Linked DNA regions of Homo sapiens: region 1 is linked to region 2. Evidence: promoter capture Hi-C in 16 types of primary human blood cells and fetal thymus (Javierre and others, 2016). All regions are on one chromosome and are shown on one strand. Each heading gives the region's core, a stretch centred on a gene start or on the middle of the fragment in contact. The rest is flanking DNA. Distances are from core to core; before and after follow the strand shown.

What was found. Contacts are between HindIII fragments. The CHiCAGO score rates a contact against its expected background, and 5 or more counts as called.
Region 1: a fragment that was not itself captured here is called in contact with the fragment with the promoter of MAPK1IP1L in region 2 in 1 of 17 cell types (fetal thymus); the score reaches 6.0 in fetal thymus.

What each region holds. Positions count from the first base shown.
Region 1 is chr14:56,576,010-56,578,709 of GRCh38, reverse strand. No RefSeq gene overlaps it. Among named protein-coding and RNA genes, the nearest start is that of TMEM260, 2.4 kb to the left of the region's middle. The HindIII fragment of the contact is 280 bases long and covers 1,141-1,420 here.
Region 2 is chr14:55,050,381-55,053,080 of GRCh38, reverse strand. It overlaps MAPK1IP1L (mitogen-activated protein kinase 1 interacting protein 1 like), which reads right to left and starts at 1,434. Exons shown (of 4, transcript NM_144578.4): 1 at 1,278-1,434. RefSeq lists silencers at 864-1,023, 1,374-1,613 and enhancers at 1,644-1,843, 1,383-2,072. The HindIII fragment of the contact is 10,117 bases long and covers 1-2,700 here.

The sequences.
Region 1 (2,700 bases), core at 31-2,530, 1.5 Mb before region 2:
TGGTAGAGTGCTTCTAAAATGGATTCCCAGATAACCCTGCCTCCTCACTCACTTCCTGTATAAGCTGCTCGCCTTATGTGTGAGCTTAACCTAAGGATTGGCTTCTATCAATACAATAAGGCAAAAGTGATGGATGTCACTTTCAAGATTAGGTTATGAAAGACTAACTTTCATCTTGCTGGCACTCCCTCTTGTCCTCTCACTTGTTCTCTCTGATGAAGCCACCTACCATGGTGTAGGCTGCCCTGTGGAAAGGTCCACATGGGAAGAAACTGAGAGCCGCCTCTAGCCAACAGCTGGCAAGAAACTGAGACCTTCAGTCCAACAACCTTAGAGGAACTGAATCTAGGCAACACCATGTGAGGGAGCTAGGAAGTGGATCCTTCCCCCACATAAGCCTTGAGATAACTATAACTCCTGTCAAGACTTGGATTGCAGCCTGTGGATGACCCTGAAGCAGAGGACCTAACTAAGCCTCATCCAGACTGCTGTCCTATAGAAACCGCGAGATAATAAATGTTGTTTTAAGTTGATAAATGCAGGCTAATTTGTTAGTTATCAGCAATAGATAGTTAAGATAGGCTGTCTTCTATTTCTTTGCTGAAAGAACATGCCAATGAGTAACCTTGACTGGGTCAAGCATATACTTCTTTCCCTTTTTATGCATTTCACTTTTGCTCATGAGTTTTATTTAAAATTTTTTTATTTTGGAGGGGAATAATTCTTTGTCCATGTTTGGGAGGTAGAGATCAGTGCTGGAAGTACAAATTTAGGAGTTGCTCGTGTAAGGATGATATAAATGACTAACTTGATAAGGGGATAGTGTAGAGAGAACAAGGTTGAGGTCTAATGTCAGCCCATATTCTCATTTAGGGAATGGCTGGAGAAGGGGAGAGAACAGTGTAAGAGAATGAGGCATCACCAGAAGCTAAAGAAGAAAAGTCGATGAAGTACATGTGGTCAGGATGTTACAGAGAGGTAAAGGACAATGAAGAGAGGCACGTCTAGATTTTGTGAAGCTCAAGTGTATAAAACTTGGAGAATTATATGTAAGTAAACTGATATAAAACTGCAGATACAGAATTAGGCACAAGATATTGGAAGACACCTGGGCTAGAGAGGAACTGTGAGGCCTAAGCTTCATTAGCTTCATGGTTGTTTTCCTTTGAAGATTAAGAACTTCCAGTTCTCTGTTTATGTCTGACTCTACCTCTCAGTAAGCATCTGACTATTCCTTCCTCCCCGGAAGTATTTTCTTTTCTGGCCTTCATTGATAGCACACTCTTTGGTTTTCCTTTTATCAATGGCCTCCCTGCCCTGGCTCTGCTTCTGTCGGTCCCCCAAATGCTGAAGTATTCCTGGGCTGTTCTAGACTTTTCTCTCTTTCTGTCTTCTTTCCCGAGATGATCATATTGAAGCTTTAAAGGGCAACTATGGGGCAATATTTCTCAAAATTAGACCTCCTCTGCTTCTCTTTTTTAGCGACCGATTATTTTAAAAAACCCAACTGCCCCCGACCTCTCCATTTCTATGTCTAAATAGCCTGTCAAACCTGATGGACTTTGTCTAATTTCCACCATATTTAAAATGATGCCTGGCACAAAATTGGTGCTAAACAAATATTTATGTAATAAATGAATACATGAACAATCAGAGATCACTGGCATATCCGTTAGGGATTGCATTTAGCTACTAGTGACAGATCCTGCTACAGTGTCTTAAACATTAAAACAATCATTCTCTTATATAAAAGAAGTCAGAAGTCTATAGGAAGTCAGTCTACCACTGGCTTGGCAACTCCCTGATTCCACTAGGGACACAGCTGAAGTCCTCATATCTTTCTGCACCATCCCACTCAGCTCACATTCTCAAGGTCATCTACTGATCCAAGGTGGCTGCTAATGCTCCAGACATTACATCTGTTCTTGAGGAAGAAAAAGAAAGGATGGGAAGAGAAAGGCCTGCTCCAGCTTTTTTAAAAAAGCACTATTTTTTTAAATGCTATTCCACAATTTTGCTATATCTAATTGGCCAAAATTGAATAACAGGTCACTCCTAGGGGCAAAGGATGCTGCGAAATAGACTTTTCAGCTGGACAGTTTGCCTAGAATTCTATTACAAAGGAAGAAGGGGAGAATGGATACTGAGGGGCAACTAGCAGGCTCTGCATGGTTGGATTTGGTGACCTGGAGGTATTTGAACCTTGAAAGTTCAAGAGGTCAGCTTCAGTAGAGTAGTATCTACAGAAACAAGGTACTAGTGGGCTAAGAAGTGAGCAAATGGAAGACATGAAAATAAAATACATTTGCAAAAAGTTTGGCAGTGAAGGGAAAGAGAGAAATAGCATGAAAATTCACAGGGATCGAAGTGTCAAATGAAGATTTTTGAATGTCTTGTTTTGTTTGTAACTCAAGGGAGTATTTGGAGAGACATAGTGATGAAGTAAAGATGTACAGGTTATTGGAGAGGATGGGACTGAGGAGGACAGAAGAGAAGGGTTGAAGATAGAAAATGTTAGAGATAAAGAGAGAGACCTCATGATGTCTCTCTTTACACATGATGTGTAAACATGTGATCGTTGGACTTGATCCTGAGACAGACCAATAAGACATATAACGAGTATTGATTTATTGTTTGTGCTCTACATCATTCTATGATGGCTTAGAGTTAGCCACTATAATACAAACCATAAAGCAGAAA
Region 2 (2,700 bases), core at 185-2,684:
GTGACCTGAAGCTATTTATAGTTTCTATTCGCCCCCACTTAGAATGAATGTTCACATCTATTGCTGCAAATATTAATGTTGGATTATGGGGTGCCCCACTCTGCTGGGGGTGTTATCTCTCGTCTAACATGACTTTCTAAAAAGATGAAGATAAAATCCAAGTATTTTTGAATTCAAAACACACTAGCTTCAAAAGTTTCAGTTAAGAGACTGGGGATGGATTTTACCCATTCCGCCTGGAGTGAGGAAAAGAACATTCCAATATTTGCAATTCACTCCAAGTTTCTGAAGCAAACTCGCTTTGCATTGTGGGCTCAGAGATGCCAGCATGAAAAATTTCTATTCTTCCCCCAAAGAACACCAGTGAACAAAGAACTTATGAAATGTTTCTGAAGGCTACCTTTGCCTGTAATGAGGGTTCCTTTTCGAAACAGACCTTTACAACCCCCAGGTGTGTATTTCTCTAGTAGTAAAACTAAAAAAAATTCTTGCGGTCGAGTGAGCCTGGCTTCATGCTTTAACACTGGAATCTTTACCTATTAAAAGCTGTACTCTTGCTTTTCAAGGTAAAGAGGAAAACGGTCCAGCTATGCATACGCTATCGCAGGTATGTGCTCCTCAGTCCTAAAAAAGGAGATCACTGAATTCTGCCCTTCTCGTGGTTTGCCCTGGGTATTCATCTAATGTATCCGTGAGCAATTCCTCTAGTAAGTCATAACCAGAACGTTGTCACACTGCGGATTAACAAGCGCCCGAGACTCTTGTAAGAATCTTTTCAGGCCTTTCCCTTTTTATTAAAAATTAATGAATGAGTGTAATAGGGTGGGGGTAGAGGGGAAATCGGGGCCAAGGGGCGCGAGGCCGGCAGCCGTTTAGGGACGCACGAACAAAGGGAGTCCGGGATCAACCGGAGCGAACCGGCCTCCTAGCGGGTCGCGCCCGCCGGGAAGGGGTGGGGGAGGGGCCGGCCCGCGCCCGCCCCGCCCCGCAGCCAGACCTGACGTCAGGCGCCCAGAAACCCGTCGGGCGCGACGTCAGCGGCCTCCGACACCTTCTCCCTGGGGGGCGATCCCCAGGCAGCCCGCAGCGTGGAGGAAGGCGACCGATAGAAACGCTTAGTCCTGGTGCCAGGCAGGCGACCACGGCCCGAGCACTGGACGTGACTCGATGCACCTCGGTCACCGCGCCCGCTTCCCGCTTGGCCGCGCCCGCGGGCTCCGCAACCCCAGCTCCCCGATTCCCCTTCACGACTCCCACTAGTACCGAAGCAGCCTCACCCGGCAATATCCGAGACCGCAGTAGGGTCTAGAAGCGGCGATGGGTCCGAGGGACTGGGCCCTGAAGACGCGGGCGCAGCCTGACTGACGGCAGCTAGAGCAGCGGCGGCAACAGCACCAGCAGCGCGCGGCTCCTCCTGGCGCCGGAACAGGAAGCGCCGAGCGCACCGCCTCCGCCCGTTCTCCCCCTCCCCTCAGGCCGCGCCGCGTGCGCCTCCCGCAGGCCCCTGGCGGTACTGCGGCCCGCCAGGCCTAGGGGGATGGGCTCCACCTGGCGCCGGCTCCGGGCCGCTTTCCCCTGGTGGGCGGGCTAAAAGCTCCCAGAGTTTCCGGAGTTCCGAGGACTCGGAGGAAACGCCAGTGGCTGCCGATGTTCACGGCTTCCCGGCGGAAATTGCTAACTTGTCTTGAGTTGCTTGAGGGCTGATTCTGGATTCCTTTTGCTCAGCGGTTTTTACAGCTAGGCCTCGAAGGAGGCTGGGTATGGACGCGGTCTGATTTCGGCCTGACCCGAGGACTCAGATCCTCGGGCCAAAAGTGGGGAGAGGGAAAATATTAATACAGGAAAGGGAAGACGTTTGCAAATAGCTTGACAAATTGATATTTGCTTTCTTTGTAGATTTTTCCTCATCAATGCCTCTTCTCCCATGTTCTTTTTTGTTGTTTTTGAGACAGGGCCTCTGTCACACACGCTGGAGTGCAGTGGCGCGATCTCGGCTCACTGCAACCTCTGCCTGCTGGTCTCAAGCAATCCTCCCATCTTAGCCTCCGAGTAGCTGAGACTGCAGGCATGTGCCACCACATCCGGCTTATTTTTGTGTTTTTGATAGAGATGGGGTCTCACCCTGCTAGCCTCAAGCGATCTGCCCGCTTCGGCCTCCCAAAGAGCTGGTATTACAGGTGTGAGCCACCGTGCCCAGCCGCCATCTTCATTTCTGAATAAACATTACCTCCTGTGTCAGGCACAGATGACATGACCCCAGTCAAGGAACCTACTAACTAGCAATAAAGATGTCGTGATAATTATATGGTGTGCAAAATATATACATATATGCAATATACTTTTTTTTTTTTTTTGAGACGGAGTCTTGCTCTGTCGCCAGGCTGGAGTGCAGTGGCGCGGTGCGATCTCGGCTCACTGCAACCTCCGCCTCCCGGGTTCAAGCGATTCTCCTGCCTCAGCCTCCCAAGTAGCCGGAACTACAGGCGCGCGCTACCTTGCCCAGCTAATTTTTGTATTTAGAGACGAGGTTTCACCACGTTGGCCAGGATGGTCTCGATCTCTTGATCTTGTGATCCGCCCTCCTCGGCAAAGTGCTGGGATTACAGGCGTGAGCCACTGTGCCCGGCCAATATACATTTTTTAAGATATAAAAATATCCTAAAAGTATGTGGTACACTTGCATCTTGCTTTGTGTAAGGC